Regions from separate parts of the Homo sapiens genome. Here region 1 is linked to region 2. The links are contacts of gene promoters, found by promoter capture Hi-C in blood cells and fetal thymus (Javierre and others, 2016). All regions are on one chromosome and are shown on one strand. The core of a region is centred on a gene start or on the middle of the fragment in contact, and the rest is flanking DNA. Distances in the headings are between cores, read along the strand shown.

Evidence for each region. Contacts are between HindIII fragments. The CHiCAGO score rates a contact against its expected background, and 5 or more counts as called.
Region 1: a fragment that was not itself captured here is called in contact with the fragment with the promoter of IDI2-AS1 in region 2 in 1 of 17 cell types (monocytes); the score reaches 5.7 in monocytes.

Annotation. Positions count from the first base shown.
Region 1 is chr10:897,151-903,366 of GRCh38, reverse strand. The region is part of intron 1 of LARP4B (La ribonucleoprotein 4B); the gene reads left to right. Among named protein-coding and RNA genes, the nearest start is that of LARP4B, 31 kb to the left of the region's middle. The HindIII fragment of the contact is 998 bases long and covers 870-1,867 here.
Region 2 is chr10:1,019,864-1,025,556 of GRCh38, reverse strand. IDI2-AS1 (IDI2 antisense RNA 1) reads right to left here and starts at 2,920. Exons shown (of 5, transcript NR_027709.1): 1 at 2,774-2,920. It overlaps IDI2 (isopentenyl-diphosphate delta isomerase 2), which reads left to right. Exons shown (of 5, transcript NM_033261.3): 2 at 813-975; 3 at 2,782-2,874; 4 at 4,660-4,790. The coding sequence starts at 834. It overlaps GTPBP4 (GTP binding protein 4), which reads right to left. Exons shown (of 17, transcript NM_012341.3): 17 at 5,625-5,693. The HindIII fragment of the contact is 10,709 bases long and covers 1-5,693 here.

The DNA.
Region 1 (6,216 bases), core at 119-2,618, 120 kb after region 2:
CAGTTCTGCTCTTTGTCCAAAAGGTAAGATTGCATGTGAAACATCAACAGGAAGTTGCCTTTTCCTCCTCTGGACTCTGGGTATACTTTGTTTGCCATCTGCGAGATCAGTCCATGGCTGAGAGATGGCATAAGTGAGCCTGAGTGCAGCAGTGAGCAGGTGGGTCTGAAGGATGTGGAAGAGTGGAAGTAGGGGACGCTTGCAAGTCAGGAGAGGCTTCCTGGGCATCCAGCACACATCCTGCCAGGTTAGGTTGAATCTTGTTTGTCCAGGTTGACATTCTCAACATGAGAAGTAATTTCTAATGGAATAAAATGCTGATGGACAGAAAAATGGAGGTTAGAATATATTCTAAACAGACTAGACAAAAGAGACAACTAGCTTTTCAACCAGGTAATTTAACATCTGTATTAAAAAGATTTTATGCCAGGCACCGTGGCTCACACCGGTAATCCCAGCACTTTTCGAGGCCGAGGTGGGCGGGATCACTTGAGGTCAGGTTGAGACCAGCCTGGCCAATATGGTGAAACCCTGTCTCTACTAAAAATACAAAAACTAGCTGAGTGTGGTGGTGCACACCTGCAATCCTAGGTACTTGGGAGACTGAGGCAGGAGAATCACTTGAACCTGGGATGTGGAGGTTGCAGTGAGCTGAGATGGCACCATTGCGCTCCAGCCTGGGCAACAGAGTGAGACTCTATCTCAAAATTAAAAAAAAAAAAAAAAAAGATTTTATGTTTCTGCTTCAACTTGAGGTTAAATGAAGTGAACGTGCTGCAGCTGTGCCCTGCTTAGACTGCAGATTTTGGTTTTGATGCTTCTTGGTAGTCCAGTATTTGACAAAGGAAGCTGTGTGAATTAGCTAAGCTTGTGTCCTAAAAAGATACTCCTAATGTAGTTGTCAACTTTTCCATTTGCTTTTCCCTTTGTGAAAGTGTGTGAAAAGGTGTGGAAACCCTTCCTAAGAAGCTCTTTACTGGGAAAGGTGTAGCACGGGATAAAAGCAAGAAGTGGTACTCCGAGGGCCATGATTCGCACTGCTGCAGCTTAGGGCTTGTGCAAAACAATGTTCTGTGCATTTGGTTCAGATACTTTATTTCAGCTTCTTTACAACCAAGTATTAGAGTGGTGGTTTTTGAGTTCGTCAAAGGTTTAATGAGTAAAATGCTCTCCTAGCCAGAGGGTTAATGAGATGATCTAAACTCCAGTTTCGGTGGTTGTTTTGTATTATGTTTTAGTAAGAATCCTAGCTAAAATGGTCTTTTCAAAAGATTGTACTCTCCAGAAGATAATGTCGTAGACCCAGTCACAGGCTTTAACGGTGGAGGGGACCGTTGTCCTTTTTTTGTGTGTCGACTTAGTAGACACGTTCTAAATTTAAAATCAGGAAGATTTTGAAAGTATATTATTTGGTGGTCTTCTCATGTAGGTACTTTTTCAATCAGATCTTGCTAACAAATAAGTTTTTGTATCTTGTGTCTGATTATGTCCTCCTTAGGAGGAGAACCAACTCAAACTATAAATAAAACTCACATTTTCTCACTGCTGTTTTTTTCAGTAGAAGCACCGATGTACACATATAAAGGACATTTTACAAAATTAGTCTTGAAATTTATTGGCAACATCTCCTTAGGAATACTCCAGTGCTGAGTGCCAGTTTAAATGTATAAACAACTACTCTACTGAGATTGGACGCATTTCTTTTATCCGTCAGTATCTTTGAGTGACACACTTACTATAAGAACATGAAACGAAAAGAATGGAATATCATAGAGATACTGAATCTTGAAAAAAACAAAAGACTAAAATAACAGTTTTGTTGGAAGCAGCAGTCTGTTGCTCTGTAAATGTTCCCACTATTCAAGCTTACAGATTCACTTGAGTATATGATGTGTATAAGGTACATGGAAGGAACATAAAATAATCTGCCCTAAGGTGCTCTCACATTATTCTATTGTAAGATAAAAATGTGCATTTCAAATATTACAGAGTGGTGCTGGCAGCCGTGAGATAAACCATATCATCCAACTAACAGCACAAGGCAGATGGATGAGGAACTAGAATTCCTATTGTATTTTATTTTCTGCACTTCTCTATTTAGATATGCACGTGGGAATCATAATGAAAATTTCTGTTAAGAAATATATCCTTCTGCTGGGTGCGGTGGCTCACTCCTGTAATCCCAGCACTTTGGGAGGCCGAGGCGGGTGGATCAGGAGGTCAGGAGTTCGAAACCAGGCCAACATGGTGAAACCTCGTCTCTACTAACAATACAAAAAATTAGCCGGGCGTGGTGGCAGGTGCCTGTAATCCCAGCTACTCATGAGGCTGAAGCAGGAGAATCGCTTGAACCCAGGAGGCAGAGGTTGCAGTTAGCCGAGATTGTGCCATTGCACTCCAGCCTGGGCAAAAAGAGCAAGACTCCGTCTCAAAAAAAAAAAAAAAAAGAGGCCAGGCGCTGGTGGCTCACACCTGTAATCCCAGCACTTTGGGAGGCTGAGGCAGGCAGATCATGAGGTCAGGAGTTCGAGACCAGCCTGGCCAGTGTGGTGAAACATCGTCTCTCTAAACATACAAAAATTAGCCAAGCGTGGTGGCGTGCACCTGTAGTCCCAGCTACTCGAGAGGCTGAGGCAGGAGAATCGCTTGAACTCGGGAGGCAGGGGTTACAGTGAGCTGAGATTGTGCCACTGCACTCCAGCCTGGGCAACAGAGTGAGACTGCTTCTCACAAAAAAAAAAAAAAAAAGGAAATATATCCTTTTTTAGCTGGGCTTTGTGGCATGCTCCTGTAGTTCCAGCTACCTGGGGAGCTGAAGCAGGAGGATCACTTGGACCCAGAAGGTCGAGGCTGCAATGAATTGAGATCGGGCCACTGCACTCCAGCATGGGTGAAAAAGTGAGACCCTACCTCAAAAAAAAAAAAAAAAAAAAAAAAAAAAAAAAAGACATCCTTCTTTCCGATCCTAGAATGCTATGACTGTGCTTTTTATTATTATCATTTTTTTATTTTTATTTTTTGAGATGGAGTTTTGTTCTTGTTGCCAGGCTGGAGTGCAATGGTGCGATCTTGGCTCACTGCAACCTTCTTCTCCCAGGTTCAAGCAATTCTCCTGCCTCAGCCTCCCCAGTAGCTGAGATTACAGGCGCATGCCACCATTCCTGGCTAAGTTTTGTATTTTTTAGGAGAGACGGGGTTTCATCATGTTGGCCAGGCTTGTCTCAAACTCCTGACCTCAGATGATCCACCCGCCTCGGCCTCCCAAAGTGGTGGGATTATAGGCGTGAGCCACTGTGCCTGGCCATGATTGTGCTTCTGATGATTTGATTTAGCTTCTGTGATCATTTTTTTTTTTTTCTGATCAATTTATGTAGCTTCAAAGGGATCAAAGTCTGGGTGGTAAACTGTTTTCTACAAATTTTGTTTGGACATTGAAAGTAACACATTTTGATTTTTTCTAATTGATTCCCAAGGAGATTATATAGTACTTAATTAAGGCAATCTCTAAAGTTCTTAGCCCTTTTTCCTTATTTAGGTAAATTTCTGTTTACTTATCTAGTTGAATATTCATTTACTGATTTTTGTAAAATGGTCTGTAAAATAAAATTATGTTGGAGTTCTTGGAACACATGTCTGTCTAGGAGCATCTTGTGCTGTCCATCTCTGTTCATGCGTCATCCCTTAACTCATTGTTCCTAATCATAGACAATTAGAGTTAGAAGGTAACTTAGCAAACTTTACAAATAAAGAAATGGAGTACTTAGACAACACTGTAGTAAAACTGCATATATTTGAATGTTACTAACAAAAGGAAGAAGATCAAGGTAAGTTGTAATATATCATTGGTGGGATATGTATTTCTGTCCTGTTCTCAGTATCACTGTGTGTAGATAGAAGATAAAACACAGGGATACCTGTGTTCCAGGAAAAGGCAATAGAATGTGCAGAACATGGCAAATAGAACAGGGAGTAATCTGTTGTGAGTAGGGAGTTCCTGACTTCAGAATAATGTTTTTAGATTCAGGAGAGAGGTTTTATATTTGGCTCCCATACAGCACACTCTCATGGGAAATGTCTGTTCTAAGGTCAACCCATAATGCAAAAATCATCAATATACTTGAAGATCCCCGTGTAAGGTACAATGTATTTAATATTATCACTGATACAATTGATCCAATACCAGTTTTAGTCTGGCATTGAATCAAATCACTGTTTTTGTTGTATAAAAAGAGAAATATTTAGCTTATATTTAAGTACCATATTGTAAGAAAAAAGATGCTTATCTTTACATGCTAAAATCATGATCTGTACATTGGTGCAGTGAATATTACTGTAAAAGGGAAGAAGGAATGAAGACGAGCTAAGGAAACTGTAGGTGCACTTCTCTGAGGTCATGTTACGATGTGACATTCACCCACATGCAGGGATTGATAGAGTGAATTGCCTGTTAAATGATCTCCAGGCACATATAGTTGAATAGCAAAATTATATGTGCATTAATATAGCCTCACTGAACTTAGTAGCTTTGTGACCTTAAATTATCCCTGATCTTAATTTCCTGCTGTGCTAAATAGGCATGGAACCTAATTAACAGAATTAAGTTTATTTGGTAACGTGGAGAAAGCACTTAGAATAATCCTTACCAAACTCATTCTTTTTCTTTCCAGGTTTCTGATTCAGAGACAAATAATTTGTGTTTTCACATTACCCTTTCGTACCAGAAAAGAATTACCTGCTGTTTAGGAAATGCCTCTTTATTTTGATTTTCTTAGAAATTATCAAGTTCTGAAATTATGATTTTTGCTATTATTTGAAAATCCAATGAGTTATGCCAGACACACATAAAAAAGGGAGGGTCTTAACCTAGTAGTTTATTATTTGGGTTGTTTCTACTTCTTGGCTATTACGAATAATGTTGCTTTGAAAATTCACATACAGGTTTTCAGGCAGATACATGTTTTCAGTTATCTGGGATATATCCCTAGGAGTAGAATGACTAGATCATATGGTAACTCGGTGTTTAACATATTGAGAAACTGCCAGACTGCTTCCTATAATGGCTGCTCTGTTTTACATTTGTACCAGCAGTGTGTGAAGATTGTAGTTTCTGTATGTACTAGCCACACTTGATATTACCTATCTTTCTGATAATAGTCATCCAAGTGGATGCAAAGTAGTATTTTTGTTTTAATTTTCTGTATTTACTTCATTTTATTTAATTTCATTTCAAAGTGGTATTTTGTGTTTTGATTTGTATTTCCCTCATGACGAATGATGTGGACGATCTTTTCATGTGCTTGGTGGCCATTTGTATATCTTCTTTGGGAAAATGTTCGTTCGGATCATTTGCCATTTTTTTTTTTTTTTTTTTTTTTTTTTGAGATGGAGCCTCGCTTTGTCGCCCAGGCTGGAGTGCAGTGGCGTGATCTTGGCTCACTGCAACCTCCGCCTCCCAGGTTCAAGTGATTCTCTTGCCTCAGCCTCCCAAGTAACTGAGATTATAGGCGCCCACTACCATGCCTGCCTAACTTTTGCATTTTAAGTAGAGACAGGGTCTCACCATGTTGGCCAGGCTGGTCTCGAACTCCTGACCTCAAATAATCTGCCTGCTTCGGCCTCGGAAAGTGCTGGGATTACAGATGTGAGCCACTGCGCTGGGCTCTCATTTGCCAATTTTTAAGTTGGGTTATTTGTCTCATTATAAGTTTTAGGAATTGTTTATATATTCTAGATATATGTTCCGTATTGGATATATGATTTGCAAATGTTTTTTCGCATTCTTTGGGTTATCTTTTCACTTTCTTGATAGTGTGCTTTGAGGGGCAAAAGTTTTTCGTTTTGATGAAATCCAGTGTATTTTTTTCTTCCTGTTTATACTTTTAGTGTCATAATTAATAAACCATTGCCTAATACAAGTTTATGAAGATTTACTGCTGTTTTCTTCCAAGTCATATAGTTTTAGCTTTTACATTTAGTTCTTTGGTTCATTTTGCCTTAATTTTTGTGTATGTTGAGGTAGGAGCCCAGCTTCATTATTTTCATGTTGACATTTAGTTGTCCCAGCACCATTTGTTGACAAGATTGTTCTTTTCCCCTCAACTGGTCTTGACACCTTTGTGGAAAATCAGTTGTCTATAAATGTAACGGTTTCTTTCTGGACTCTCGTTTCTATTGTATTGATCTGTTTGTCTGGTCTATGCCAGTACCATGCTGGCT
Region 2 (5,693 bases), core at 1,671-4,170:
TTTTTTTTTTTTTTTGAGACAGAGTCTCACTCTGTCTGCCCAGGCTGGAGAGCAATGGCACGATCTCGGCTCACTGCAACCTCTGCTTCCCAGGTTCAAGTGATTCTCCTGCCTCAGCCTCCTGAGTAGCTGGGAATACAGGCATGTGCCACCAGGCCTGGCTAATTTTTGTATTTTTTAGTAGAGAGAGGGTTCCACCATGTTGGCCAGGCTGGTCTCAAACTCTTGACCTCAAGTGATCCTCCCACCTCGGCCTCCCAAAGTACTGGGATTACAGACGTGAGCCACCGCTCCTGGCCCTGAAAACATTTTGTGAGAAGATCTTCACCTAAGAATCTGCTTGGCTCTGAAGAGGACCATAGCCCTTCTGTGGGTGACGTAGCTTTCCTACAAGGCTGTGTGTTTCTCCACGTCTGATCCAGGTCCAGTGGTTTTGCACAGGGCTGCACTTTTCCCCAAAAACTTGTACAAAGAGTGTTACCTACAGTTTACCTCGGTGTGTTTTGTGTGTGTGTGTGTGTGTGTGTGTGTGTGTGTGTGTGTGTGGTGGGGCGGGGATTCTTTAACTCGTCACTAAAGGAAACCTGGAAAACATGAGGAGTATGTATGTACCCAAGATTTCCCGTTCAGAGAGACACCACATTAGAAACAGATGATTCACCTTCCATATCTCAGAACTGTGCTGCTTCAACACAATTGCTGTCACTTGTAGAGAAGGTGTATGCTAAATCCTAATGTGGTTGGTAACACATAGCAAAAACGAGATGGCAATATCTTTCACATAAAGAGGCATTTGTGTGCATCTATTTCAGGTCGGGTCACAGCCAGCAGCTATGTCTGACATAAATCTTGACTGGGTTGACAGGCGTCAGTTGCAGCGCTTGGAGGAAATGCTGATTGTTGTGGATGAGAATGATAAGGTTATTGGTGCCGACACCAAGAGGAATTGCCATCTGAACGAAAACATTGAGAAAGGTAGCCCCCGCCCATTTTCTCTGTCCAGTTCCCAGGGTTTTCCCATTTTTCCCACCCGACGGCAACCTAAGAAGAGAGTCTAGGCCTTTCCGGCTAGGAGGCGACCACTGGGTCACCTGTGTGCTTGCTGTGCCGTCTTTAGAAGGCTCGGGGAGCAGCACCTGGATGACGTCTTTGCTTGGTCAAGCCCTTGTCAGGCTCCTGCACCTTCTCCTAGGCATCCGTGCTCTTCCTCGTAAGATCCTGTTTCAGCAAGAATTCTACCAGGTTGTTTTAGCGAGAACCCTGACCTTGGCATCTGATTAAATTCCTCAACCCCGTCCCTCCCAGGTGACGTCTGATCACGCAGGCCTGTCTTCAGCAGGTCTTGTTAGGTCGGTGTAGCCAGAACCCCCTTCCCACTGATGTTTTCTCTTAGTAACTTTTAATCCATAGGCCCCAGCCTGCTCCTTGGGTGTTGTGTGCAGTTAGGCTGGTTCTCCATGGAGGTCTCTTTCCCCTATTGAAATGGTTCTCAGTAAAGTCAGACTTTCCTGCTTTAACTCCTGTCCAGCTCTGGTTTTCTTTGACCATCTTAAGCCATTTTATTATTTTTTAATTTTCATTTTTGTGTCTTTTTTATAAACACATAATAATTATGCATATTAATGGGGTACATGTGATAGTTTGATACCACCATGTCATGCATAATGATCAAATAGGGCATTTTGGGATATCCATCACCTCAAACATTCATCATATCTTTGTGTTGGGAACATTCCAAATCCTCTGTTCTAGCCACATTGAAACATATAATACACTGTTGTTAACTACAGTCACCCTACTGTGCTATTGAACAGCTGATATTATTCCTTCTCTATCGCGGTATGTTTATACTTATTAACCACCCTCTCGTCATCCCTCCCCACTGCCCTTCGCAGCCTCTGGTGTCTAGCATTGTGTTTTCTGCCTCCATGAGATCAACTTCTTTAGAGCCCACATAGCAGTGAGAACATGTGATACTTGTTTTTCTGTGCCAGGTTTGTTCCACTTAACACAATGGCCTCCAGTTCCATCCATGTTGCTACAAATGACAGGATTTCATTCTTCTTTTTTTTTTTTTTTTTGAGACAGAGTCTTGCTCCATTGCCCAGGCTGGAGTGCAGTGGTGCAATCTCAGGTCACTGCCAGCTCTGCCTCCTGGGTTCATGCCATTCTCCTGCCTCAGCCTCCCGAGTAGCTTGGACTACAGGCACCTGCCACCACGCCCAGCTAATTTTTTTGTATTTTTAGTAGAGACGGGGTTTCACCATGTTAGCCAGGGTGGTCTCGATCTTCTGACCTCGTGATCCGCCCACTTCAGCCTCCCAAAGTGCTGAGATTACAGGCGTGAGCCACCGCACCCGGCCCGATTTCATTCTTCTTTTGTGGTGGAATGGTATGCCACTGTGTATCTAACCCTCATGTTTTCAACCCTTCAAACCTCCACGGACACAGGTTGATCTCATATCTTGGCTGTCGTAAATGGTGCTCAGCACCCAGGAATGCTGCGATATCTCTCTGATAGACTGATCTCTTTTATTTTGGATATTTGCCCTGGTAGTGGGATTTCTGGGTCATCTGGTAGATCTATTTTTAGTTTCCCGAGTGTTCTAATCCGCTGAGATTCTGAAACGTTGTGTTTGGGCATCCAGCAGTCCCCTTTGCCCTGCCCAGGTGCCACAATCACAGGCTTTTCTACGAGAAACAGACTGAGGACAAAAAGCACGAAGGACAATCGTACAGACTCCAGGCATGCACTCACACAAATGGCACTTACCTTTGCAGGGCTGCTGCACCGAGCCTTCAGCGTTGTCTTGTTTAACACCAAGAATCGAATCCTGATACAGCAGAGGTCGGACACGAAAGTCACGTTTCCTGGTGAGTCCGTTCAACCAAGCCCCGGACTGAAGAGAGCATCTCATGTGACTTGACCGGAGGAATCTGGGACAGGAACTCTCTGGTGCTCAGTGCCGCACTGTGGTGAGCTGGCAGCTCATCCTGCAGAAAATCGGCAGCTTAGGCAGATGCTAATTATGCTGATAGCTCTTCAGTAGGCTGGGTTTTCTTTTTTAAAAAAGTAAGAAACTATATGAGTTTCTGGGTTTTTTTGTTTTGTTGTTTCTTTGCAACGGCAAGTTACTTAAATGCAGAGGAATTTATCAACCTAAGGATTTAGGGGATTAAAATAGCATTTAGCATAAAATTAACTAGGTAATAATAATAAAAATTATCTTACAGGTCTTAGAGTTTTAATTATCTTGTACTTCTTAAAATTACAACTTAAAATTTTTTTTTTTTTTTGGAGATGGAGTCTGGCTCAGTCACCCAGGCTGGAGTGCAGTGGCGCCATCTCGGCTCACTGCAAGCCCCGCCTCCTGGGTTCACGCCATTGTCCTGCCTCAGCCTCCCAAGTAGCTGGGACTACAGGCGCCCGCCACCACACCCGGGTAACGTTTTGTATTTTTAGTAGAGACGGGGTTTCACCGTGTTAGCCAGGATGGTCTCGATCTCCTGACCTCGTGATATGCCTGTCTTGGCCTTCCAAAGTGCTGGGATTATAGGCGTGAGCCACCGGGCCCGGCCAAAAAATTTTTTAGAGGGGAACAGCATTTACGTCAATTGTGGTCATTTAAAGTGTTTTGGCCTAGGCTGTCCTCAAATTTTCAAAACCAGACCTTGCCTGAGCCATTAAAGCGAATGGCTAAGCACGGCCAGCTGTGGCCGAGGTTTTCTCCTCCCTTAGTTCTTCCTCGGAGCCGCAGTGGGTACATCCTGCCCATTCCCAAACCCACCACCATACTTGCTGGTCAAGTTGTACTCACGGGCTCCTTGATGGAGCTGAATGCAAAGTTTGTTTCAGAAAAATTCAGGAGCTGCAAAGTTAAGAGGGTCAACTGTAGTACATAGTCAACAGTTTGCAAATAAAGCCCCTGGAGCTAAGATTTCCTATCATGTGTTAGCCGCCTCCAGGATACATAGGGGCAGGTGGGAGTACCAGCTCTTGTACTTGCAAGAGTGGATTCAACTTCAGCCAAACTCCTTGCAGAGTGACCGAAGGAAGCACTGAGGGTCTGAGGAACGAGAGGGAACAGAGATTTACTGAGGAGAGTGTGACCTCCCGTCATAGCGCTATTGCTGTTACTTGGGTAAATTAAGTAGAACCTCTCAGTAAGGAAACTTGGTCAAAGGTATTCCAGCAGTCTTCCTGTGAAACCATGCTCACTGATCACCACCCTCAAAGTGCAGCCCAGCTTCCTCAGCCCAGCTGGTGCAGCCACCCAGCCCACAGCCCCACCACCTCCTCCCGCCACCCCATGGCATCTCAGGTCCTCTGTGGGTACAAAACTGAGTAGGAACCAGTCCCTCTCCTAAGACATACTGGGATAGTGCCACGGGACATGTGTGTGCACATCTGCAGGAAGGGCCGCAGGAGCGGTCAGGGCCAGCCCCGCCAGGTGGTCATGTGGAAGACCCTCACCAAGCCCACAGCCGTGGAGGCTGGAGGCGAGTGCTGCTCTGAGAGCCCATGACAAACCCACTCCCCCCGCCAGGCTGTCTTCTGCTGATGACGGATGATGGTTTTACATGAAGCATCTGCATTTGTATTTAATATATTCACTTTTCAGGAATAAAGAGGGATGTTCCCACATGCATTTTTTCCAGGGTATTTTACCGACTCCTGTAGTAGCCACCCATTATACAACCCAGCAGAACTGGAAGAAAAGGATGCCATCGGAGTGAGGAGGGCAGCCCAGAGGCGTCTGCAAGCAGAGCTGGGAATTCCTGGGGAGCAGGTACACACAGCATCCAGTCTCAGCTGTGTCCACGGGAGTCCAGGTTGGCAGCGGGCAGACGGTGAACAAAGTCCAGGCTGGATCTACACCATTGACCTCATGAAGCACCATGAGGATGAAGGATGGGGCTGTGGATGGGGCTGTGAATGAGCTGTGAATGGGGCTGTGAATGGGGCTGTGAATGTAGCTGTGGATGGGGCAGTGTGAGTCCCTATGTGTCCCAGGCAGGGTTGAGACTGTGCAGGAATCTGTCGACCACACACCGAAGAGGAAATTCAAGCCGGGCGTGGTGGCTCACGCCTGTAATCCCATCACTTTGGGAGGCCGAGGCGGGCGGATCACAAGGTCAAGAAATCAAGACCATCCTGGCCAACATGGTGAAACCCCGTCTCTATTAAAAGTACAAAAATTAGCTGGGCGTAGTGGCACACGCCTGTAATCCCAGCTACTTGGGAGTCAGAGGTTGCAGTGAGCCGGGATTGTGCCACTGCACTCCAGCCTGGCGACAGAGCGAGACTCCATCTCAAAAAAAAAAAAAAGAAAGAAATTCAAGTGTAGAAAGAATGTCCAGGATCCTGTGAGCATGTGTTACCTTCATCCACTCAAGAACACGTTTAAGAGAGGATGGATGTTCTCCTGACAACGCTAGCCGGTTTCTACGGGGTTTTCTGTTGAGGATGTGTGTGTGACACGGTTAGTTCTTTAAATGAAGACAGACAGGTTTACTGGAACCAAGAAACCAAAGCCGGTTTATCATTCAGACTTGAGTCCACAAAAATTTACTTAGCTAAAATCGAGGTTTTGGAAATTATCAATTACCAAAGAAAGTGTTCATTTTCTGAGGAAAACAAATGTGTTTATTTTCTCTATTTTTCTGTAAATTCTGTGTTTTACATTAGCGTT